7 separate regions of the Homo sapiens genome follow, and all the other regions are linked to region 3. Evidence: promoter capture Hi-C in 16 types of primary human blood cells and fetal thymus (Javierre and others, 2016). All regions are on one chromosome and are shown on one strand. Each heading gives the region's core, a stretch centred on a gene start or on the middle of the fragment in contact. The rest is flanking DNA. Distances are from core to core; before and after follow the strand shown. Region 1 overlaps TANC1 (tetratricopeptide repeat, ankyrin repeat and coiled-coil containing 1). Region 2 overlaps TANC1 (tetratricopeptide repeat, ankyrin repeat and coiled-coil containing 1). Region 3 holds the start of MARCHF7 (membrane associated ring-CH-type finger 7). Region 4 has its middle 75 kb from the start of TANC1. Region 5 overlaps TANC1 (tetratricopeptide repeat, ankyrin repeat and coiled-coil containing 1). Region 6 overlaps TANC1 (tetratricopeptide repeat, ankyrin repeat and coiled-coil containing 1). Region 7 overlaps TANC1 (tetratricopeptide repeat, ankyrin repeat and coiled-coil containing 1).

What was found. The method cuts DNA at HindIII sites, captures the fragments that hold promoters and counts their contacts. A CHiCAGO score of 5 or more calls a contact.
Region 1: a contact is called between a fragment that was not itself captured here and the fragment with the promoter of MARCHF7 in region 3, in 2 of 17 cell types (megakaryocytes and erythroblasts). The highest score is 6.2, in megakaryocytes.
Region 2: a fragment that was not itself captured here is called in contact with the fragment with the promoter of MARCHF7 in region 3 in 3 of 17 cell types (megakaryocytes, fetal thymus and erythroblasts); the score reaches 9.7 in megakaryocytes.
Region 4: a contact is called between a fragment that was not itself captured here and the fragment with the promoter of MARCHF7 in region 3, in 1 of 17 cell types (megakaryocytes). The highest score is 5.5, in megakaryocytes.
Region 5: a contact is called between a fragment that was not itself captured here and the fragment with the promoter of MARCHF7 in region 3, in 2 of 17 cell types (megakaryocytes and naive CD8 T cells). The highest score is 11.0, in megakaryocytes.
Region 6: a fragment that was not itself captured here is called in contact with the fragment with the promoter of MARCHF7 in region 3 in 1 of 17 cell types (fetal thymus); the score reaches 9.0 in fetal thymus.
Region 7: a contact is called between a fragment that was not itself captured here and the fragment with the promoter of MARCHF7 in region 3, in 1 of 17 cell types (megakaryocytes). The highest score is 7.6, in megakaryocytes.

The regions. Positions count from the first base shown.
Region 1 is chr2:159,177,288-159,180,941 of GRCh38, forward strand. It overlaps TANC1 (tetratricopeptide repeat, ankyrin repeat and coiled-coil containing 1), which reads left to right. Exons shown (of 27, transcript NM_033394.3): 14 at 1,269-1,876. Among named protein-coding and RNA genes, the nearest start is that of MIR6888, 7.7 kb to the right of the region's middle. The HindIII fragment of the contact is 1,871 bases long and covers 1,297-3,167 here.
Region 2 is chr2:159,158,736-159,162,459 of GRCh38, forward strand. All of the region lies in intron 7 of TANC1 (tetratricopeptide repeat, ankyrin repeat and coiled-coil containing 1), which reads left to right. Among named protein-coding and RNA genes, the nearest start is that of MIR6888, 26 kb to the right of the region's middle. The HindIII fragment of the contact is 2,772 bases long and covers 1-2,765 here.
Region 3 is chr2:159,710,563-159,714,000 of GRCh38, forward strand. It overlaps MARCHF7 (membrane associated ring-CH-type finger 7), which reads left to right and starts at 1,944. Exons shown (of 12, transcript NM_001282805.2): 1 at 1,944-2,044. It also overlaps a transcript of BAZ2B not described here. RefSeq lists silencers at 1,393-1,902, 2,423-2,542 and enhancers at 1,519-2,185, 1,953-2,232. The HindIII fragment of the contact is 3,093 bases long and covers 1-2,229 here.
Region 4 is chr2:158,892,003-158,895,738 of GRCh38, forward strand. No RefSeq gene overlaps it. Among named protein-coding and RNA genes, the nearest start is that of TANC1, 75 kb to the right of the region's middle. RefSeq lists an enhancer at 1,439-1,608. The HindIII fragment of the contact is 244 bases long and covers 1,712-1,955 here.
Region 5 is chr2:159,135,503-159,138,685 of GRCh38, forward strand. It overlaps TANC1 (tetratricopeptide repeat, ankyrin repeat and coiled-coil containing 1), which reads left to right. Exons shown (of 27, transcript NM_033394.3): 5 at 692-796. Among named protein-coding and RNA genes, the nearest start is that of MIR6888, 50 kb to the right of the region's middle. The HindIII fragment of the contact is 3,835 bases long and covers 1-3,183 here.
Region 6 is chr2:159,091,090-159,094,534 of GRCh38, forward strand. All of the region lies in intron 3 of TANC1 (tetratricopeptide repeat, ankyrin repeat and coiled-coil containing 1), which reads left to right. Among named protein-coding and RNA genes, the nearest start is that of MIR6888, 94 kb to the right of the region's middle. RefSeq lists an enhancer at 1-30. The HindIII fragment of the contact is 1,210 bases long and covers 1,061-2,270 here.
Region 7 is chr2:159,114,927-159,118,236 of GRCh38, forward strand. All of the region lies in intron 4 of TANC1 (tetratricopeptide repeat, ankyrin repeat and coiled-coil containing 1), which reads left to right. Among named protein-coding and RNA genes, the nearest start is that of MIR6888, 70 kb to the right of the region's middle. The HindIII fragment of the contact is 1,511 bases long and covers 772-2,282 here.

The sequences.
Region 1 (3,654 bases), core at 982-3,481, 530 kb before region 3:
GAGGGGTAGGGTGATTTTTTTTTTCTCCTCCATCTTCTTCCTCACTTAAACCCTGAAATTGTGTCTTAACCATTGACTCCTTCTATACCTATCCTTTTTCAGTGAAGACTTTTAGACATTAGGTTTTGATTTTTGCCCTTTTATGATATTTATTTAAAAACAGCATTTGGAATTTTTTCATTATAAAAACTGAAATTAGACCTCAGTTGAACTTGATGCGTGTTTTTTGGACATTCAGTTTGTATATTTTTCAGTCATTTTTTACATAGTAAGCACAATTTGTCCATCAGTAGATCATAGGAACCAGGAATCTTACGTTCTTCTTCCCAGCTGTGTAAGTTTTCAGAGCTTCAGATAGCATCCATGTAAAATGGGAATAATTGTATTCTGCCCTCTTTATCTACATTGTTATATTAAATGAGCACGTGCATTTAAATACTTCAGAAACAATAGTGGGAAGTCTTTTTAAAAAGGCAAAACTCTTCTTTGCTTTTAGGTGTCAGATGTGCTTAATCTTTGGAATGGGGAAGAGATGGGAAGGGCACATGAGGCTTCTGGGAGCTGAGGATGTTTTGTTTCTGGGTGCTGGTTACATAGGTATATTTGACTTAGTGAAAATTAGTGACACTGTGCAATTGTCATTTGTACACAAATCATATGTTCATTGTTAGACTTCAATTTAAAAGTTTACTTTAAAAAAGCAATTCATAAAATAACGTGCTATACCAAAGTAGGCAGCTTTGTTAAGATGCGCTGTCGTTGAGACACAGCCCAGGGGCAGACTCAGATTTCCTGATTGGGTTACACAGCCCCAGTGTTTGCTGCATAAAGAAGGATGTCTTTTATCTTGGCGTCTGGCCGTGTTCTTAGATGTGCAGTGTTGGTTGGTGTTTGTCCTTGTTATATAAGCAGTTTCACAGTGTAAGGATTATGGGTATCAGGTCACCTGCAGAGTCTCACTGCCCTTACTGGCCCTGGCCTCGTTGCCGCTGTCTGCACAGGGCTCTTACTCTGCTTGCTAGGCTCAGGGTCCTTGGATGAGGGCCTCAGGATAGCACTTACTGATTCCATCTCCCATCAGGATTTCTTTCACATAAGCTTTTTATCTTCACCTTATCCTATTACACGTTTTAATACAAAACAATGAGTCCCTGTAATCCATGAAAATCCTCCTTGAAACAAAACTAGTGAATCTGGTTTAAAATGCTGTTAAAATAAAAAAGGAATCTCTTTAGAGTGACACTGTGGGTTTTTGTTTTCTCCCCCAGGAAATCATAAGTGCGCTGCCATTTGTCAAGCTTTCCTTAGATGACTTCCCAGACAACAAAGACATCCACAGTGACCTGCACGCCTACGTCCAGCACAGGGTGCACAGCAGCCAGGACATCCTCAGCAACATCTCCCTGAATGGCAAGGCCGATGCCACACTCATTGGAAAAGTGAGCAGCCACCTGGTGCTGCGGAGCCTCGGCTCCTACCTGTACCTCAAGCTCACCCTGGACCTTTTCCAGAGGGGCCACTTGGTCATTAAGAGTGCCAGCTACAAGGTGGTGCCCGTGTCTCTCTCTGAGCTCTATTTGCTTCAGTGCAACATGAAGTTCATGACCCAGTCCGCCTTTGAGAGGGCACTTCCGATTCTCAACGTGGCCCTCGCATCCCTCCACCCCATGACAGACGAGCAGATCTTTCAGGCTATTAATGCTGGCCACATCCAGGGGGAGCAGGGATGGGAAGACTTTCAGCAGAGGATGGACGCCCTCTCCTGCTTCCTCATTAAGAGGCGAGACAAAACCCGCATGTTCTGCCACCCGTCCTTCAGGGAGTGGCTTGTATGGAGAGCAGACGGGGAAAACACGGCCTTCCTGTGTGAGCCCAGGTACGGCAGGCGCTTTCTTTCAGCTCTTTGCAGGGAATCTCGTGTGCAGTTGGGGAAAGGATTTAAATGTGATGCACGTGTCTCAATGGAAGGGCAATCCAGAATGACTAATTCAGTGTTACTGCTTTGTTTTATTATTTTTCTTCCTTTTTGGCAGAAGGATGGGCAATGGGGAATTCTCTATACAGAAGCTGCCTTCTAATTGCTAGGACTCCCTTATGGATGGTACATGTGGATAAAAGAGAAGCTGGGTGGTGCCTGTGTGGTCCTTCCTTACTGTCCATTGTCTCATGGAGCCCCGTCTCCTCCCCCACCCAGCTTCTGCAGGATCATGCATGGGAATGTGTGAGATCAGCCCCTGGGAACAGGGGGCTTCTCTAGAGGGAGTTCCCTGTGTGTCTGCAGACTGTCATGGGTCCTCAGCACCTCCACTCCCCTGCCACCCCTTGAACATGGAGTGACTTGTCCCAGGGATCAGGTATATCTGTGAGCCCAGAGGGAGCACCATGATCCAATCTAGCCTCCCCGCTCCACACCCTTCACCCTTTGTGGATGAGCTCTGTGTGGTGGACTGGACCAGGCTGGGATGCAGTTCTCCTTGCTGCCTGGGCCGCTGTTATCACAGTGGGATGGGGAAGGAAGCCTGTCTGCTGTGTGGCTTGGTAACAGTGTGAGAGGTCAGAAAGTTTGAGGATGCAGATGCGTTCAGATATGTATATGGCAAGCCCCCAACTTCCACTTGGCCCTGGCTTTGGCCTGTGTCTCTGCTGTCTCGAGTGGCTTCGGCTATCTGTGAGCCAGAATTGCCCCCTGCTGTAGTAACAGGGCTGGCAAGCTGCTCAGCTGACCCCTTAGGCATTTGACCAGATGCTGGGATCCAGAAATGAAGAGGTGAACAAGCATTGGTGAGCCCTGGGAGCCTCACAGCCACTTTCCTCCCTGTGAATATTGACTGAACATCCACCTGATAGGCCTGGCTGCTGTTCATGTTGGGGCTGTTATTATTTTCTTCAGTAACACTGGCTGAAGGTTTGTTGTTATCTTTTGAACCTGGTTTGGGGCAATAAACTAACATCCAGGTTATTTAGCCAGACCATAATAGCTAGGTGAAACATGTGCTGTGACATTTCTAGCCAAGTCAGATTACTTTCTAGGGAAATTCCAGTCATTTTCTAGGAAGATTGACTATAGCTGAGTTTGTAGAGACATAAAAACAAATTGAAAGACTCCATCAGGAGTGTAGGTTGTTACTGGGTTGGAGGCTAAAGTGGCTGGACTGTAGTCTTCATTAAGCTTCGCTTCATTTTGGGTATTGGTGGGCATTGAGGTTATGTAGCCTAGGTCAGAGCTAGGGTGGGTGCCTGTGGGCTCCTGAATGCCACTGTGTTCTTAAAAGCAGGCATGGGGACATCCCCTGGGGCAGGACCTGGACTAGGTGGAGGCAAGAGAGGTACCAAGGGTGCAGAATTTAAGGAAGCACCCACTCCTGGGTGGTGCGAGTTGTTGCCATTTTCCCAAGACACCTGTAGTATTTGAGCTTCATTCAATTGAGAGGATATAGAACAATGTTGGAAGGAAGCTACTGGATTCAGTTCAGCAACAGTTTTTGTTATATGCAGTTATGTGCAAAGTACTGTGGCAGACACCAATTGTTGGGACAAGGACCCTGCTCTCAGGGCTTCCCACACAGGGCAGGGGAGGCAGGAGGTGATATGCGAGAGGGAGGCACACTTCATGTGGACCTCACAAGAGGGAGAAGCTCCCAGCGTAAGTAAAGG
Region 2 (3,724 bases), core at 130-2,629, 550 kb before region 3:
CTCCTAAGTTTCCTGATAGCTAGTGGAAAGAGAGAAAACACATGTGGAAGGTGGTGTTTATAAAGACAAAAATGTCCATTGCCCAAAATGGTACCGGGTCTGGAGACGCATACCTCCTTGTGGACCCCCTAGAGGGGAGAAGCCAAGGTTGCAGCAAGCCCCTTGCTCTTTTCACCCTTGTCTTCTCTGTAGCTCAAAGAGAAGGTTCTGATGAATTGTTTGTGGCATATGTTTGGTATCTCTGGTCCTTAGTTCCTGAACAATTCTGGGCTAATGCTGTAGTCAGGTTACAGTTAGCTTTCTTCTTGATGTTCATTTAAGCCTATAACTTGATTTGGATCCCACCAAACTACCTATAGGGCCCTGGACCGACACTGATTTTATTTTTCTTTTGCTGATTCTATTTTAAGTGTCCATTCAACATAGAACCTTCAGAAGGCAAGGGGTAAAGTTGGATCCTAGCACTTTAGGAGGCCAAGGTGGGTGGATTGCTTGAGCTCAGGAGTTCAAGACCAGTGTGGGCAACATGGCGGCACCCTGTCTCTACAAAAATATAAAAAATTAGCAAGGTGTGGTACCTGTAGTCCCAGCTACTTAGGGGGCTGAGGTGGGAGGATCGCTTGAGCCTTGGAAGTTCGAGGCTGCAGTGAGCCGAGATAGCACCACTGCACTCCAGCCTGGGCAAGAGAGTGAGACCCTGTCTCAAAAAAAAAAAAAAAAAACTTTGGGAAGGTGAAGAAAGAGTGCAGTCGTATTTCAGAGCCTTGCAGAGCAAAGCATTTGATGACTGAGTGGATGACTTTTTAACAAGGCAGACTTCATGAACTTTTAGCCACAGATAATTAACTCCTTTTATGTAATGAGCACCATGCAAGCAAATGGTGTTTTAAAAATACGCTGTATGTATAATCAGAAGAATTGGTATTAGCTATACCACTAATTGTGCATACACATACGTGTGTGTGTGTGTGTGTGTGTGTGTGAGAGAGAGAGAGAGAGAGAGAGAGAGAGAGAGAGAGAGAGAGATCAGGTTCTCTGGAGCCTTTTATCTCTATAAGGTGGGGTTGATGGTTCTCAGCCTATCTGCCTCCTCTCATGGGATGTGATCAGGTATACGCCCTGTTATATTAAGAAAGTGAGCCAGGTGCAATGATGTGTGCCTATAGTCCCAGCTACTTGGGAGGCTGATGCAGGAGGACTGATTGAGGCCAGGAGTTTGAGACCAGCCTGGGCAGCATAGTGAAATCCCATATTATTCAAAAAAAAGAAAAGTGTTTTGGAAGTATTCTACCCCTGTACACTAGTACAAAGGAAGATAAGACACTGTCCTTGAGACTAAACGGAATGTAACACTAAATTGTGAGGCACAGCCTAACCTCACAGCCTTATAAAATTTAAGGCCTGATAAGTCGCTCAGTTTCAGAATGCCCTGTGTCTCGAGGGTGGCTGAGACCCAGTTTGGGTGATGATAGCAAGCTGTAATTGACAAAAGCTGCCATCTATACTAGTCCAAAGAACAAAATGCTAGAATTTTTAAATTATTAAGGCAACTATAAACATTAGCCAGTCTCTGGGAAATGTCAAATAGCACTTTTTAGAGATTTTTTTTTTTTAAGTCATCACAGTTAAGATGCTGCCCTTGATGTGTACGTGTACCCACAAGCATTTTTGAGAGTGATTGACTGGGTTAACCTGATTAGGAGTTTGAATTTCTGTAAGGTTGGAAGAAAGAAAGATGTCGTTTATTGGAAGAACCAGCTTTCTCTTCTTGGGGACTCCGGGGCTGCCATGTTTGGTGTTGTTCTTAGGTTATGCAGGGAAGCCAGACTGATTTGGCCTTCATCTGCTCAGCTGGATCTGCCTCAGGGCTCGGATGGAGCTGAGCCAAGATGAGAGTGTCTGGGCTTCCACCTGTGTAGGCTACATCTGATATTGAATCCCAGGAAGGAGTGTCAATGGAGTGGCTTCAGATTTTCCAGCCTCCCTGCCTCTGAGAACCCTGGGACATGTGGACCGTGGAATGCCTCTCTCACAGGAACTTTGTGAGGGCAGCAGAAGGGCTGCCTCTTCTTCCTCACTAGTCTCCTTCATATAAACACTGACCTTACAATATGTTCATTTCTAAATGGTTACCCCATCTGGGACTTCTCTTCGCAGTGACTGCTCCTGCAGCTGAGCCCTTCCTCCCCCACCCCTTTTCCTTCCTCTCCCTGCCAGGACCTGAGTGTTACCCCTCCGCCCCCTCTCCCCCTCCACGAGATGCTGGGCACAGTGTAGGGCACATGTCTGCCAGTGAGAGCCACACCTTCCACCTGTCCTGCCATCAGGAGCTCTGACCTGGCCTTCCCAGCCATCCTCAGCTGCTCCATGGGTCCCTGAGGTCCTGATTGCAGTGCTGTCACTTGTAACAGGAAGTGAGCTAAGTCCTTATTTCCCCTGCTTGAGGTCCTAGTTAGGACTCAGATCTTTGGGGTTTGATTCAGAAGTGCTTGGCACTTAGGGAGAGCACTTTGACTTTTGGTTTAATTTTTCAATTTACAAATACGTGCTTTCCAATGTAACAGCCACAAAAATAAAACCAAACAAATCCCCTATCTCCCTAGCCTGGAACTCTTCCTGTCACTTGGATGTTGGAGTAGCCTGTGAACCTAACTTATTACAATATGTCTGAGAAAAGCATTTTGAGTTGCAAATGCTGGATTTAAATGTGAAGGTTTGTAACACCACAATCTGTGTTATGGGATGGCCCCCATTTTTATGCTTCAAGCTTATTAACAGGATTACCATTAATAAGCAATAATCTTATCAATAAATTAGACCACTCCTGAAAAACATTAGCACACTTCTAGCATATAGCAAACCTTCAGTAAATGCTAGCTTCTGCTGTCAACACCACCATTGGCATTTTTATGATAGAAAGAGTCATACTTGCTATGCCTATGTTCATATAAATGGTCTATTTAAAAACACAAGGAAGGCTGTGATTGATTCCAAAGAGGTGGAGGTATGGTTTAATACTGCTGATGGAACACTGGCAAATGCTGGGAATCATAACGATGGGCACCCAAAATCAGATCCTGAACTCTGGTAAGTGAGATTAAGTGTAGTGTCTCTGACCACAAATGGAATTGAAGTTTATTCATTTGCTCATTCATTCAATTAGCAAGCATTTATTGAGCACTTACTATGTGCTGTGCTGTGCTATTCAGAAAAGGAAAAGATAGCCATGGATACTCTAGGGAAGGCTTCAGCATTTATGTGGGATTTTTTAAAATAGGCAACCAGAGAGGGTGATAAGTCCAGGCTGCAGCAGCAGGAGGAGTAAAGACAGTCAGAATTGTGACAGGATGTCCTGGGCCACTGCAAGGAAATAGTTTTGTCTTTACTTCTAAACCGTAAAGAATATAAACAAAGCTAAACCCTTCAGACCCTTTGATCCTAAATAACTGACCCTGAGCTAATTTACCAGCCTTCTGATACAGTGTGTATCATCTTGGTGTGTGGCTAAAGCAGCCTGATCCAGGAGCTGGGTTCTGAATGCACTTTGGCCCTGTGCACTCCCATTTAACAGGCGTGGAGTTGAGGGCCTAGGTGACTGGAATCCAGATAGGGAAAGAGGCATCGGTGGACATGGCCCCTGTTCTCAAGGACGCAGCCAGCGTTAGTTCTAACAGTGGGGCAGTGTGAGTGGCCCAGGTGATGATGACCTGTGGTTGCAAGGGGA
Region 3 (3,438 bases), core at 694-3,193:
TACCTGAATACTAAAATCAGAGAGAGTACATTAAAAAGAAACACAACGAACCATTCTTAAATAATAAAAACATATTCATCAGTGGTCTTTATTTACTAGCACCAATAAAAAACTAGAAGCTCTGTTTAGCATAGGAAATTGGTGTCATACTCACTTTATAATATCATCAGTGCTGGGTGGGGACAAAGCCATAATCTGCCAAAATCTGCACCATCCTTGCCAGGTTTGGGAGTTCTGTAGAGTAGTTACCACTGCCAGGTCTGACTGCCATAGCTCAGGAAAAGGGTGCAGTCATTTCTCTTAGCATAATCTTGAGAAGATGTCTAAGAGACCTATGTAATATTAAGTCACAGAAAGAAACAATATTATTGGTGGTTTAGACATGGAATGTAATAGCTAACAATTACGGAATGCTTACTTGTTTCAGGAACTGACGTGTTATCTCATCTAAACAATGCTACAGAGCATGGGTACTGTTATTAACCCCGTTTTACAGGAAACCTAGGTTTAGCAAGGTTAAGGAATTGCTTGAGATAACAAAGGTAGTAAGAGGCAGGGGTGGAATTTGAAGCCATATAGTCTGGTTCTTCAGGGTGTATACATCCGTGTATCTATAACCACAATGCTGCAGGGGCACTCGAACAGGCTGGAAAAGAATTATTTTTCTTTAAAGGGCAAATTAATTTCCTCAAAAGTAATCTCTGTTCACTTTATCCCATACCAGATGCTTATTTTCATTTCATATCCTAAAAGTTAGATTGGCACTTACATGCCAACTTAAAATACCTTTAAGTCTTTAAAATTTATAGTATTTTAGAATTTATCATAGTGAAACATGTACAGTCTGTTAGTCCCCAAGACAATAAAATAAGGATGATAGTGACTGATACTCCATTCCCTTCCGATGTAATGACAAACACGTAGAAACACTGTGTTTCATTTATTGGAATTATTTGGATCCAAAGGATTGCTTTTAATACCTTAACAAAATAGGTCATTAAAAAAAATCAAGTGCCTTTCAGTATTCTTCCAAGTTTCAATAACTGATCTTTTCCATTAAAAAACTTTTGATTCATTATTCCAAATCAACATATCATCTAAATATTTACACATAGTTAGATGTAGCTTTTCCCTAACCTACTCCCTTTTATTTATTAGTACTCATTTACATCTTAGTTTGCCACATTTACAGTTCTTTGAAAGTTTCATCTAATATTCACCAGACCATTCACCTCACAATTTTCCTCCCTCTTTCTAAATAGGTGAATTTGTTTACTGCAAAATCGATGGCTACGCTATTAAAGGTTACTATCACGATTTTAAAAGACATGATCACCATCATTTACCAAGATTCTTACCACAAGGAAATGATCACAAGGTTGGACAAACAGGCTCCAACTCTTAAGGGAAAGGGCTTGCAGTTAGATCACACAGGGCGGGCAGGGAAGCAAGCGGGGAGGGGTAGGTCGGAAAAGGCAGTGCTTGATTCAATTCAACATTCACTGCGCCACTTACCAAGAGCCAGAAAAAGAAAAAAAAAAAAAAAAAAAGCCAACCAGCTGGGCGTTATTTCGAGCACGGGGCCCTGCAGGTGGGCCTGTGGGCGGGGACCCGGCGCCCGGGAGGGAAGGGGCTGGCTCAGAGACTATAGACGGGCGGGGACCGCCCCGGCCCGGGCCTCCAGCGCCCGGCGCCCGCACACTCGCCAGCCCAGCTGCCGGCACGCCGGCCAGCCAGCCGCTGCCGCTTACCAGTGGCGCCTCGCTGACTCCCCGGGGGCAGCTCTTCAACGGTTCCCGCAGTCAGAGCACCACCCCGCGGTGGGGTACCTCCAGCCCGCCCGCAGCTCTCGGTCCCCGCCGCGCCGCCACTCTCGCGAGAAGCCAGGAAGTCCGCGAAGTGGGGGGAGGAGGAGCAGGGAGGGGCACTTAACGGTGGTGGCTGGTTCTGCGCCGGATCCGGGAGAGGGGCGGGCGCCATTGTGCTTCGCTGCCGACTGCATTTCCTCAGTCACGGGCCTAGAACTCCAAGGAGAAAGGCGGCGGTGCGTGTTGCTGCGAGTGGGACGCGCACTGGTCGGTGCCGGCTCAGGAGCCGGGGTAATGAGCTGCGGAGCTAGTTCTTCTCCGTCTTGGGCGCTAGTTCGGGACCAGGCCGCGAGTGGGGGAGGGGAGGAAACGAAGAGGCCTGGGGACGCGGAGGCCGCTTCCTCTCAGGATGAGGTGGAGAAGCTTGGTCCGGGGCCACCGGGGCCAAGGGGCCACAGCGCAGGCCTCCCTTGCCAGGGGCCTTTGGTCGGGTGGTGGAGTTTGTGGCGGGTGCAGGGGACAGATTGTGTGTCTTCCTCAGGGACGTGTGGCGGGTGACGGGAAGAAGCCTGAGCCCTCCTTTGGCGCGGGGCGGCCTCCTCTTGGGCCGTGGGGCGGGGGGTCTTCGGAGCCCTGCGGGCCGCGGGTGTCGCGCGTGAGCTCGCCGGTGAGCGCGGGGCAAAGGCGGGCAGGGCTCCGGCTCGGCCAGCCCGGCCTCGAGTCGAAGTGACTTCGGTAGCCCCTTAGATTCGGCCAAGATTGTCTTATTGGTAACGTCAGTTTTTGAATATCGTGACGCCCTGAGAGTTATTTTTGTGTTGTGGTGAATTGTGGGTTCTGCAACTCGAAGTAGGTGATTGTATTAAAAATGGACCTGTTGGCCTAAGAAGTAAAAATATAGAAGGCGCCGGGAGTAGGAAACTCCCTCATTTTGGTGAAACTGCGTATTGAAGATGTGTGTCCACCCCCTCACCCCAAAATGCTGCACTTAATACTTTTTCTCAAGTACCAAAGTAAATATATTGGGAAAGTCTATCTGGGTAATAAATTCGTCACGACTAATGTTGTTTGTTACTATTAGTTAAATGTGTGAAAACTGAAATTTGGCGAGGTTTTCTCCCCCATTTTGTAGGATTGATTAGCTATTTTTCTGATTACATGTTATTTTAAATCTCCACCTTTCTGTCCAGAACCAAGATGTAGGATTAAAGATGAATTTTCGATTTAAAAATCCAATAGTATACAGTTATTAAGAAGGCACACATGTAGTGTAACTAGATCTTTTACTTGAGGTAGCAAAAAGTTTGTTTGAGAAATGAGGTCAGTATAATATTTTTATTTAACAGCTCTACAGCATTTTGGGAGACAGGACTGGTGCATGAGGCAGTAGCACCAGACTCAGAAGACCTGGGTTTGAGTCTTGATTTTTGCCATAGTTATTTAAGTTCACGAGATTGTCTCAGAAACATGGCAGTTAATTTCTAGAGAGGATTAAATTTGCTGAGGTGGTGTGTGAAGCAGTCACTAGGGGACATAATACTAGTCTTGGTTTTTTTCCAAGTTTAGTGCTGGGTCAGGTGTCTTGAATTAAGAATTCCTACTTATTCAAGTACAAATGATTTCTTTTTTC
Region 4 (3,736 bases), core at 584-3,083, 820 kb before region 3:
CCCTCAAGTGTCCTCTACCACTGTCACCACCACTGCTCCCTGGAACATTCCATTTTCTCTGTCAGGCAACTAAAGGTTAAACATCTCTTCTGCATTTACACAAGGGGCCTCCAAGCCCCTGCTCAGCACCATTCTCTCTCTGCTCCCTGCCTCTGTTCATGGTTCCTGCCCCCCCCACATGCTTTTTGCGCCTCCTTCTCTCAATATTCACCTGTCCAGATAATAGCGTGCAGATTTGTTGTTGTTGTTGTTGTTGTTGTTGAGACAGAGTCTCGCTCTGTCACCCAGGCTGCAGTGCAGTGGCACCATCACAGCTCACTGCAGCCTCGACTTCCTGGGCTCAAGTGACCCTCCCACCTCAGCCTTCTGAGTAGCTGGGACTACAGGCACACACTACCATGCTTGGCTAATTTTTGTATTTTTTGTAGAGATGGGGTTTCACCATGTTGCCCAGGCTGGTCTCCAACTCCTAGGCTTAAGCAATCCACCCACCTCAGGCTCCCAAAGTGCTGGGATCACAGGCTTGAGCCACTGTGTGTGGCCAATGTGCAGCTTTTAAAAAACATGTTGCTACAAGCCATGGGGCTATATACAGGTGTGTACAGTTACAAGTGAAGACTCTCAGTAGGTTCCTCACTTGAGTTTGATTCCATTTAGGAATCATTTACTGAACCCGGCATTGTGCTGAGCTGGGGGCTACCAAACAAGGAACTCTCCTCAAACCCTCAGCTAGAAAATGTCCTCAGCTGGTTCAGACTAAGGCTACATTAGCCCAAAGGCTGAGGGTCCAATATGTCAGCTCAGCCTCTGGAGTTGAGCCGACTACCTGGCCACAAACCCTCTGCCTGTTCCTACAGAAGTTGGTGACAACCTTAGGCTTGCTCTAATGTAGTTCTCCTGGTACCAGCCACTACCAGACTAAAGCCCTTTTCTCTCCCACTAGCAGTCTTCTCTGCTTTACACCCAGATGCTCAGTTTCTCCTGCTATGCTCAGTATCAGAGGCAGTTCGTTTCCATTGGAAGGAATAAAGTGACATTCCTGGTTCACCTCCTGACTGCTAGAGGTAGGTGCCACACGTGTAACCACATACATCATATCCCACATTCAGACCAAGCAAGCCCAAGGAGGGATGGGGTGGGGGGCATTCGCCACAGGCCTCCCTCTTTCAACTCCCCCACTGTTTCAAATGTCAGTGGCAGAAGTTCTGCCGGCTCAGGAGTGGGAGGAGGCACAGTGTGCGTGTGGAGGAACAGATGGCTGCAGGGGGTTGGGGCTGAGCCATTCTCCACCCCGCTGCCCGGCTTGTCCTGGCAAGTTCGTTCACTGATGGAGCACAGCCTGAGTGTTCACAGCCCCTGCCCCGTCTCCCCAACTCTGCTCTCTCTCACTGCTGTTCATCCTCCTTGGAAGCCAGAGTCCTTCTCTCCTTCCACAAGGAATCCTGTCACACTCTGCTTCACAGCCTTTGTTGACTTGCTTGGCTACAGGATAAAATGCCAACTCGGTACCTTGGCCCAGGTCAACTCCCATGTGCTACTAAAACACAGGGTGCTCCTGCCATTCCTAAAGGGATCACACTCTCTAGACCCTACCCCAGGGCACAGGCTATTATTTCCACCCGGAATTCTTAGAACCTTCCCTCACACCCTTCCCACCTGCTAAACTCCTATTCACCCTTCAAAACCCACTCCAATATTGCTTCCTCTGGAAAGCTTTCCCCAAGGCCTCTGTGGAAAAAGAGTTGTTCCCACCTCAGGGTCCCCTCAGCACTAGGTTCATACATCTAAATCAGCATATTACAGGTCTTACTATAATTTATCTGTTTACATGTCTCTCTCCCCAACTAGTTCACAAGACCCTCAAGTACATAATGCTTGTCTTAAGTTGATGCTCAATGTATTTAGTGAATAAATGAATGAAAAGTCAAATACACACTACTTATAGATTCTTCTTAAGCTTTAGTATGCTTCTCAGGGTTATCAATGTTATCGAGCCTCTGCCTTTCCCTCCCCATTCACCCCTCCTATGGCTTAGGGATTATGGGAAAAGGGAAATTATAATGACTGTGAAGTGGAGCACCCCTGTCTCTAGAACCACGTCCCTGCCCATTTTGATATTCTCTCCTCTCTTGGAGGACCCTCTTCCCTGCCAGATTCTCAGGTAGAGAGCAAAGCAAAATACCAACTAGTGTGTGCCTGTGGCTGAGTCATTTAACATTTCTAGACTGCAGTGTCTCATCTGAGAAATTGGAGATTAGAACCAGGTGACGTCAAAGGCTCTTTGTAGTTCTGACAAGCTATAAGTCATGAAGAAAGTCGTTGGAATTTTAGGCATCCCCAAAACTAGAGAATAGAAATGTGCACAGGGCCTCTTCAGTGTTCGCATAATATAAATCTGTTTATCCATGAATAAGGCCGACCCTGGCAGTGGCTTCTTTCTTTCCTGACACATCATTCCCACCACTTCTTGTTCAAAGCCACCTCCTGAATTGTCAGCTGGGCACCTTGGGAGACTTTGTTTTTGGCTTATTAATGTTGATGGAACAGCATTTTCAACAGCTACAACCAGTATAATCCAAACTTTCCATATTAAAAAAAAATTTATTTTTTATTTTTTATATTTTTATATTTTTATTTTTTCATATTTTATATTTATTTTTTTCCCACCACCAGTCACCCCAGACTATTTGCAGAGATAGAGAGGCCTGGGCACTTGTGTTTTGTTGGGGACTCTTTGAACAACCTGTGCAGGTAGTATACTGCACAACTCTAGGGGGCTCCCTTCATACTGAAGTCATTGTAGATTTGCACGTGCATTAGGATACGTTTTTTTGCAGATGGCAGCAAAGTATCTGAGGAAAAGTTGCTTTTTCTCACCTGCACAAAGGTACTTAGGAGGTTAGCTCCAGTGCTAACTTTTTTTCAAAAGGAAACTATGCCAGGCCGGGCAAGGTGGCTCACGCCTGTAATCCCAGCACTTTCAGAGGCCAAGGCGGGTGGATCACTTGAGGTCAAGAGTTCGAGACGAATACGAAATACAAAATATTAGCCCAGTGTGGCGGCATGCCCCTATAGTCCCAGCTACTTGGGAGGCTGAGGCAGGAGAATTGCTTGAACCCGGGAGGTGGAGGTTGCAGTGAGCTGAGATCGTGCCACTGCACTCCAGCATGGGCAACAGAGCAAGACTCCATCTCAAAAAAAAAAAAAAGAAAAGAAAAGAAGAAAGAAACCTATGCCAAAATAGCATTATGCAAATTGTGGTAGACATCAATGTTTCCATGTTACAAATCAATATTTTTAATATTGTGGTAAAAAAATATATCTCACATAAAATTTACCCTTTTAGGCTTTTCTTTTTTTTCTTTTTTCTTTCTTTTTTTTCTTTTTTTTTTTTTTTTGGAGACCAAATTTTGCTCTTGTTGCCCAGGCTGGAGTACAATGTCGCGATCTTGGCTCACTGCAACCTCCGCCTCCCAGGATCAAATGATTCTCCTGCCTCAGCCTCCTGAGTAGTGGGGATTACGGGCATGCACGGCCACACCTGGCTAATTTTGTATTTTTAGTAGAGACAGGGTTTCACCATGTTGGTCAGGCTGGTCTCGAACTCCTGACCTCAGATGATCCGCTGTCTTGGCCTCCCAAAGTGCTGGGATTACAGGCGTGAGCCACTGCACCCGGCCTCCTTTTAGCCATTTTTAAGTATATAGTCTAGAAACATTAAATACATTTACATTGT
Region 5 (3,183 bases), core at 408-2,907, 580 kb before region 3:
GTATGTGAGGGTTCCATCCAGTCTTACGAAGAATTCCGGATTTTCTGATAATAAGCAGGGGCTGTGGGAACAGGAGGTAGGAGATAAGCCTGTTGGTCTCTCCTATGTCTGACCCGCTTGCTGGCTGCTGTGCCCCGCACAGTTACTGTGCGTCACCAGCCAGATAAGATGCCTGTGTTCTTGTGGCTGGTGCGCAGACTGTGTTGCTGTTACAGGCCGGCTGTTTGTAATCCTTGCCTCCTGACTTTAGAGATACCAAGCTACCAAATTGTCTTTGTCCCATCCTTGTCCTAGTTAGAGGAAAATCAAACCCTTCATCACAAAGCAGTCCAGGTTTGAACATGTCAAAATCACCCACTTGACCAGTGAAGACAGCTGTAGCGACTTCACAGCAAGAGAGCAGCTTTTGTTTTTGTTAGGGTTTACATTCTCAAATCTGAGCTTACTCTTTTCTTCTTTGGCAGGCCAGACTGGACGTTCCCTCGTCTGTACTGAAATTTTGTGTGTGTGTGTGTGTGTGTGTGTGTGTGTGTGTGTGTGTGTGTGTGCGCGCGCGCGCGTTTAAGGGAGGGGAAGGCACTGGCTCTTCCTCTAGGCATATTTGGGTCCTGGTAAGGACACACACTGTACATTCCAAGGCTTTGTTTGCATCTGGAAAAAATTAGCCACACTCAGATCTTTCCCACTACAGGTCCCGTCAGGAAGCCCAAGTATGTGGAAAGCCCCAGAGTGCCTGGAGATGCAGTTATAATGCCATTCAGAGAAGTAGCCAAGCCAACAGAGCCTGATGAGCATGGTAAGAATTTCAGTGATTTCCTTCCCCCTCTACCAAAGATTTTATACAATGACACTTCATTTCTGAATGAAACTTGAGTGTCCTTGCAGTACTGCTTTGCTGAGAATGTATTTGGGAGGTATTTTCCCCTCCAGCAGTTACAGAGATCTGTTTGGCTAACGCAAATTCTTGGAAATTGTATACCTGGCGTATAAATAGTTAAGTGGGTACATATGCATTATTTAAGGATTGAGTCCTATTTCCTCTGAATTTTGACCTACCAGGTCTTGGAGGATAGGAAGCGTCACCCAGTAGATTGCTTCCAAGATTTTGTTTTGTTTTTAATATTCTACTGCTTGAGAAAATTCAACAACAGGCTTTGGCTGAAAAGCTGAAACCTTAACTGGACAAAGCATGTAATTGCTAGCTTTAAAAAAAGCATTTGGTGTCTTTTGAAGGCTGCTTTTTTTAACATCTGAAGTTTTTCTTTAGGGGATGTTGAAGTAGGAGCAAAAAAAAAAAAAAAAAAACCAAATTGATGGAAATATTTTTAAAGACATTTTATATGTATATGTATTTTATACCTGGAAATATGTGTGACATTACAAATTTGCAGCATTTAACAGATATATTCATAGTTGTTTATTTTAAAAAATCAATTCAAGAATTTTCCTGTTTGTTCCTTTCTGGGGAGTCCCCAACTCACATCTCTCTTGCCTTTAATTTGGGTGTTTTGAATTTCCACCCTGTTTTTCTGCAGAAACATGGGACTAGGAATCTTGCTGTATGTAAAGGGGCTTGCTTTATCCTCAGTGTGGACAAAAGTTTATGTAGCAATGCTGAAAGAGAACTCAACCATATTTTTACTTTGGCATATCTGGCACCTTCCTCTGCCTAATTGTGGGTGGTGGGAGATACAGACCCTTTATGTCCTAACCTGTGTGTGCCTTTTGTGTTGCTGGTGCTGTATGGCAGGGAGTGGGTAATAAGTAGGACATGGGAAGACAATATACTGGAGTGGTGGTAAAAATATAGCTAAAAATGAGCTGTGAGGAAGGATCAGCAAAAGCTGAAAACTGGGAAGGGAAGGGGAGTTTGGGACATGGGGAAAAGATGGGGCCAGGCACTGGGCACTCTGGGCAGGCAAGAGGTGCTATTGCAGGTGTCTTGGCATGAGAAATGCCACCCTTTTCCTTTCTGTCCAGGCACTCATTGTGTGGTTGAGGGAAGAGGATTTGAGCTGAGGATTTGTGCACACCGAATGTTGCTGGTGAAGGTGGAGATTCCACTGTGGTGTCTGGTTAGGATAGCCAACTGCTGGTACATGAGGCCTCTCTTGATTGTGCGTTCACGTGGGCAGGCAGTCTGTTCTCTCTCTCCTCGGTGTCCTGAAAGGAAAGTAAAATCTCTCTCTCTGTAGTGAATATCAGTCATCAAATGTCTAAGCTGTCTGCCTGGCTCAGATTAAGCCTGCTACCTACCTCTTCCCTTCTTCCCCACCCACCAAAGCCTTTGTAGCCCTGGTCAATTATGCCCCTGGCATTTTGGCTGGCCTAGGCTCCATTATGTAACCTCTTCCTCCCTGGCTGGGAGTATCGTTAAGGTTCTGTACAGGGATTGGGACCTCCTCCTCCTGGTGTGGGAGTGGGGGTAGAAAATTTGGATTTTTATTAGGCAATAAAAGGTTATAAATAGTTCCTATTGTTAACTTTTCTCCCTTGCTCAAAGCAGAATTGGCCACCTTTCTTGACGAATGGAAGTGTTCTTATGCTTGGCTGTGGGCTGAGCTAAATTTCAAATGCAGCAATTGGTCTTGCTGGAGTGGCCTGAAGTTTGCATGTGTGCTCACTCCTGAGACCTGAGCTTTCTGATTCGGCATCTTTAGTCTTCATGGGGACCAAAGTTATGAGATCTATGGGCTACAAATACAGGACCAGACATTTCGGTTTCGCCTGAAATTAAGAAGCAGGGTATGTTTTCATTTTTGTTAAGTGTCTCGGGAGCAGGTGTAGTTCACGTCTGTGGGTGCATGGTCTTGCCTGAAGATAGCCATGATGTTGGTGGATGCCGCAGCAGGGTGAGCTTTCTCTTGGTTGATGAGGAGAGGTGGCTGCCTAACAAAGTCGAACAGGACAATTAGTATAGAATGGTATGTTTTGTAATCCCCATGGAGTCCCTTAAATTTCAATGGGGTTAATTAAGTCTGCCATGTCAAAGTGTAAATTTTATCCAGATCACTGAACCCAAAGGAAATGATAGAGCCGACTAAAACTAATTGAGTTTGAGTGTTAACCCAGGTGTGTACAGATACATGATGGGCAAACCCTCATTTTTAGGGTTTAATATCAGCATCATCACTTAAGTTTTACTTTAAAATGTGGTCTTCTGTTATCTATATTTCCCTTGGA
Region 6 (3,445 bases), core at 416-2,915, 620 kb before region 3:
CTATTTTTGGTTTTCCTTCTTAAGTATGCAAAATGACATAATGTTGAAAGCCTTTCTCAGTAGCCTTCTCCAAGGGGAGCAATACTGAGACAGTGGACTCTGGATCCCGCTGCCTGGGTTCAGACTCAGCTCTGATATATGCCAGAGTGGCCTTGGGCAAGATACTTGATCCTTTCTGTGCCTCAGTTTCTTCATCTGAAAAGGGGGCTAATAGCAATGCCTAATTTGTGGCGTGGCTGTGAAGATTAAGTTTAAATAATATATGTATAATGCACCCAGAACCCTGTCCTGGCACCTAATACATCTAAAAAATAAAAAGAGCATTTATTTTAAATTGCACCCCTCTGGGAGTTTGGGGGTGGGAGTTTTTCTGAGGTCATTTATTTTTAAAGCACAGAAACTCTTGCATGCTGATATGTCTTAAAAGGAAAACTTTGACAATTAGAGAGGAAATGCCAGTCTGTTTACTCATCTGTTTCAGGATAAGGCACATTTGTACGTTTGGTTCTATAACCATTGAGTATTAAGAATAAAACCATGCGGACAGTATTTACTGATCTCTGTTTAGATCCCACTGGGTGGATTTTTGAAGACAAGGATATGCTGTCCTGTTGGCTAGGTTTCTTGTACCCTAGGGGTTAGCTGCTTTCTTGCCTCTTAGTGGTATTGTTTGAGAATTAATCATGATTGTCTGAATAAAGTTTTTGAAAATTGTTTTCTTGGATGCATTTATTTTCAAAATGTTCTGCCTGAATGTTAGGAGATTCTATAAGACATAAAATGGCTTCAAGTGCTTTTAGTTGTAGTCTTCTGAAGGGTCCAAAAATGATACTGGATCTTGTGGAAGAAATCTTTCAGTTTTCTGTAAATATAGGGGGGGGTGTGTGTGTGTATGTATGTAGAGTTATGTGGTTATACAACCTTTAAGAAACATTAGTGCACTGTAAGGCGGGGACTGCACAAAAGGTGCCCTAACACATTTAATGCCCTAGTTAAATGCATTGCACAAGTTCCGTTTTCTGGAGCTGGATAAACAGAACATCTTTCTTTTTCTATTCTAAGCTTCTATCGCCCCACCCCACCTCAGCCACTTCAGTGGCACAATAAATGGAAATCTTATTTCCTGCCTCTGCAGACCTATTTACCTGAGTGTCTAAGTGCACCCTTGCCTTTCTCAGGCCTTCCCTTCCTGAAATATGCTTTTACTTTCATCTCCTTGCCTTCGTTGCCCTCATTTTTTAAAGCTGTCTCTAATGCTGCACTCTATGTACTTTAATCTGTGATGTTGGATGTTGCCATTCTGCATAGCTGCCTTTAAACATTCATCTCCCAGATTGACATTTTCTTCCATTATGAATTGAAATCCCTTTTCACAGCCTGTAATGGTAAAAACATTTTAAAATAAAGAACTGTTATCAAAAGCCATTTCTGCCAATTTAAAACGCCTTATTGGATGGCTTTATTCCCTTTGATAATTTTGTTATCTTTGCAAACTATGACTTTGACTTACTTGTATGCGTATATATTTTTATTTATTACGAACAGAGAGGTTCTTATAGATGTCTGTGTGTCCCCTTGCCCTTTCTGGACTTTTATTTTTGGACTTAAGGGAATTGATGATTTTAAAAGAAGCAAAGGAGTGTGTGTGTATGAGTGACAGAGGCTATATGTAACCTGCAAAGTCTGAAATATTTACTGTCATACCCTTTGTAGCAAAGTGTGCTGACGCCTTATGTATTTAAAATACTCACTAAAAATGTGTCGTTTTGGGGATCTCTATCTTTTTCCCCAAATTAAAGCTCTTAAACGTGTGAAGTGGTGAGAATGTTAGAGCCTGAGCTGACCGGTTGTGGGGAGGTTCTAGCTGTGATCCCTGTTCCTCAGGGTTACCTTCCAGGCCCCAGTCTCCCATCTGAGACAGTGTGATTGCATTTGATGCTGTGCGATGGAAAGCATTTTGGGGTAGGTGGGACTGTCTGTGGTGTGTAAATGTTCCAATGGAAACACCTGCCAGTGAAGCTGGAGGAGGTAAATTACTAGTCATTGATAACATAGTTTTCATACCCTGGAGAGGTTGCATCGTCCTACCTGGCATTTCTGCCTGCAGTAACAGGAAGGGTGATTGAAATGTGCTTCCCATCACTTAATCAAGGTGGGGAATAAAATAGGTCATAGTTAAAAGAAAACAGTATCTATTCAAGGGTTAAGAAATATGCCAGCTGTGCTGGTTGTTGCAGTGAAACATCTTTAATTCCTCTTAAATGTCTTTAAGCTTCTGCTGAGGAATGTTACATCTACTGGAGAATCTCTGGTGTCTTGTTGCCCAGAACCAATATTGTATTGTTCACGTGGATGCCCCTAAGAGATTTTCACTTTCTGCCCGTGGCATCATCGTGATGCTTTCTTTGTTTGACCGTATTCCCCTTGCCCTTGTGCAGTTAAAGCTCCTGGCTCCAGAGTGCTAGATCCACCCAGCTTTGTGCTTCCTGTTCATACATAAAACTTCTCTCCCTACTTTGTGCCTTTCTAATGAAAGGATACTGGAAGTTAGAGATCTTTTATTGCCTCTGAAAAACAAACCAAACAGAACAACATGTTTGAGAGTGATTATAGTGAGATGGTAAAGTAAACTTGAAATGGAAACCCCCCTCCCCCTCCCTCTTCTCTTAAGCCTCGTTTTATTGCAGCCTGCATAAAATCATAGTGCTGGAGCCCAGCTGCTCCAAAGGCTGAAGGTCCTCATGCTTACAGCATGCTTTGGAAACTCATCTGCACCACATTTGCAATTAATGAAAATATTTGCTTTGCTTGTTATAAACAAAGTTTATGGGCAGAATTTATAATTAGGAAACTTTTTAATTCTTTTTCCCTTCAATGCCTAATTTCTCTTGTGTCATGTTGGAGAATTATAAGTATTTAAGAAAATAAACCTTTTCTCAATGCTGTTTATTTCTGGTGGTGGTACATGTATTTCTCCCTTCTTTTGTGTCCTCATGCAAATTAAAGGACTTGAAATCTGGGTTTTTATTTGTTTTTGTATAGGTCAGTAATACTCATGTGTGAGTAGGGGAGACAGTGCCTTTGTGGCCTGTCAGGCCATCCCACAGCCATTTGACTAGCTGGGTCTGTGATTTAGCCTATGTGAGAACAGCCACAGGGCAATGTAGCTCTCTTCAAACCACATGGAAAACCAGTGTCACCTCTTCAAGGTCCCCCACACGTCTTTTGTATGTAATGTTCTGGGGCTGTGGCCTCAGTGCTTTCCAAGTTCTGATCTGTCTCTTGGTGATTCTTGCCTGTACACCCATGAATTAGGTGACGTGATGTGGTTCTTGTAGGCACAGCACCTGCTTGCATTCTCAGTGTGAGAGTGAGGTGGTGATGAGAAAACAACCATCCCTCAGCTTTTACAAGTTTGTCGGGTCAGAGGGCATCCGGCTCCACT
Region 7 (3,310 bases), core at 277-2,776, 600 kb before region 3:
CTTTCACGCAGTGATTTCATGAGCTTCCATAAACATTTGTTTTATACCAGTTTATTGAGCACCAGCCATGTGTTGGGCTCTGGACTAGAGATGTGGTGGATATAAAGGTAAATAAATACTTGGCTCTAAGCTCTGGGGACCTCCCAGTTTGGCAAGAGATGACAACAGTGAAGACATTGAGGTGTCTACAAAGTGTTGTGACCTCACGGAGAAGAGCGAGACTCTCCTTTCGGAAGCTGGTAAGGGTGTGTGTGTGTGTGTGTGTGTGTGTATGTGTGTCCGTGTGTGTGTGTGTCATTGGAGGAGCCAGGTGTTTTATTTTGGCAGTGATGTCCTATGACAGAGTTAAGCAGAAGAGGGATGAAATAAATAGATTTGGTTTCTAGGACGGTAACTGTTTCACACAGGCCTCCTTGGGGTTGAGACTGGGACTCCTTGAGTCAAATGCAGTATAGTGGCTTAACTCTGCAGGGGAATGTGCAGTGTGGTGGAGGTTGATTTGAAAAAGTTTTAGGAAAAAGAATCTTTAGGTTGTGGTGACCTGTTTGTACATGAGAATTAGGGAAGGAAGAAAGTGCAGAAGGAAAGTACTCAAGGCAGGGGCTTCCTAGTCCTTTTAATCTCATGGCACATATAGGAGATTTTTGTACAGCAAATGGAATCAATGAACTGTCCCTCGGGCACTGCCCCAGACTCTGCCCAACGGTCCGGAGAGCTGAGAGAATCCATATCCTGGCATACCCTTAACTCATTTTTTGCATGCCATTGGGAAGCTTGCCGAGCTCTAGCTTGGTTTTCTTGATAGGTCAAGATTCAAAATATTCTGTTGTGCCTCATGACTTTGTTTTTCTCCCCAGTTTAATTTTCATAGTATTTCCAAGGTGGGCATTATTCCTGTGTTTTGGGTAGGAATTCTAAGGTTCTGAAAGGTAGAATTTCAGCCCTCGTTGGTCCTGGGATTCCAAGTAATGCTGTTTCTGCCCTACCACAGGTGTAGGTGCTGGTGTAATTAACTACAGTGTGGAGTGGTTTGACTTTGCCTATCTTGAACTTTGAGTGCTCCACGAAGCCATGCTTGTGAAGAGCACCAAGGAGTTGAGTGCAGAGTCTGAGCTAAGGTTGCTGGCCTCAAGAGAGAAAAGAGGATTTTGAAACAGGGCATCTGACGCAGAGGCTGTGAAGGTCAAGTATGATAAGGAATGAAAAGTACCTGTTAGTGGCTGGGCGCGGTGGCTCACACTTGTAATCCCAGCACTTTGGGAGGCCGAGGCAGACAGATCATCAGGTCAGGAGTTTGAGAACAGCCTGACCAACATGGTGAAACCCCGTCTCTACTAAAAATACAAAAAAATTAGCTGGGTGTGGTGGCAGATGCCTGTAATCCCAGCTACTCAGGAGGCTGAAGCAGGAGAATCGCTTGAACCCAGGAGGCAGATGTTGCAGTTAGCCGAGATTGTACCACTGTATTACAGCCTGGGTGACAGAGCAAGACTCAGTCTCAAAAAACAACAACAACAACAACAACAACAAAAAAAAAAAAACAAAGGACCTGTTAGCTTTTGGAAATATGGCAATTGATGACCTTTGAGCAGAATAGGCAAACTTTTTCTGTCAAGGGCCAGATAGTAAATATCTCAGGCTTTGAGGGCCACACAGTCCCTGTTGCGACTATGTAACTCTGCCATCGTAGTACAGAGCAGCCTTAGACAATACGTAAATGAGTGGTCATGGCTGTGTTCCAGTGATATTTTATGTATAAAAACACTCAGTGGTCCAATTTGGCCCCTGGGCTGTAGTTGGCCAATGTTAACTTTTGTCTCAGGAAAGGAAAGGAGAAATGGAAACTTAGCATTTATTCAACCATGTGCTAGACACTGCATGAACATTTTCAAGCCTGCAGCTTAGGTATGAACCCCACTTACAGTGAGTTGATGGAGCGCCCCAAGAGCTTAGTTATAACTTTGCTGAAGGTTAGACTGCTCGTTGATAACCAGTTGGGATTTGAACTTCAGTCTAATTCCAAAGCCTGGGTCATTTTCACTTTACTTCATTGCCACCCGGAATAGTGGCCTTCGATCACTCTCGAAAGGTGCAGATGGCACAGGAGCCCTCACACTCTGCCTTTCCACCATATCCTTCACATGACCTTCAGTGAAGCAGTGTTTGCTGCTTTACCCTCCTCTATGCTGAGGGTGAAAGGACTGTCAGGAACACAACCTAAATACAACATAGAAAGTAAAAGGACTCTCCTGTATGTGACGAGACCTCTTAGTTACCATTAAAGCTTGGGTGAACTTCTATTTTTAATAAAATTTAAATTCAGAATAGCGTTAGATTTATAGAGAAGTTGCAAAGAATGCAGAGTTCCCGTGCACTCCATACCAAGTCTCCTCTTATTAACATAGGACATTAGTATGACACACTTGTCAGAGTTAATGAACTGATATTGATACCTACTAAAGTCTGTACTTTATTCCTTTTTTTTTTGAGATGGGGTCTTGCTCTGTTGCCCAGGCTGGAGTGCAGTGGTGCAATCTCGGCTCACTGCAAGCTCCGCCTCCTGGGTTCACGCCATTCTCCTGCCTCAGCCTCCCGAGTAGCTGTGACTACAGGTGCCCGCCACCACGCCCGGCTAATTTTTTGTATTTTTTAATAGAGACGGGGTTTCACCGTGTTGGCCAGGATGGTCTCAATCTCCTGACCTCGTGACCCGCCTGCCTCGGCCTCCCAAAGTGCTGGGATTACAGGCGTGAGCCACCGTGCCCGGCCTATTCCTTTTTTTTTTTTTTTTTTTTTTTTTTTTTTAAAGCTTATTCCCAATGTCCTTTTTCTATTCCAGTATCCGAGAGGACACCATATTGCATTTAGTTGTCAGGTCTTAGACTCTTCTTGGCTGTGGTGGTTGCTCAGACTTTCCTTGTTTTGATGACCTTGGCAGTTTTGGGGAGTGCTGGGCTGGTGTTTTGCAGGTTGCCCCTCTACTGGAGTTTTTCTGTACTGGAGTTTTTCTGTACTGGAGTTTTTCTCTACTGGAGTTTTTCTCTACTGGAATTTTTCTGTACTGGAGTTTTTCTCTACTGGTGTTTTTCTCTACTGGTGTTTTTCTCATGATTAGACTGGAGTTACAGGTTTTGGGGCAGAAACCACAGAAGTGAAGTGCCTTCTGCTCCCATCTTTTGATGTACACAGTAGCTACCTGGCTTATCACTGTCTTGACTTCGATCACCTGGCCAACGTAGTGGGTGCCAGGTTGCTCCAAGGTGAAGTTATTCGTTTCCTTCCCTCCCCCTTCCATATATTAACATGAACG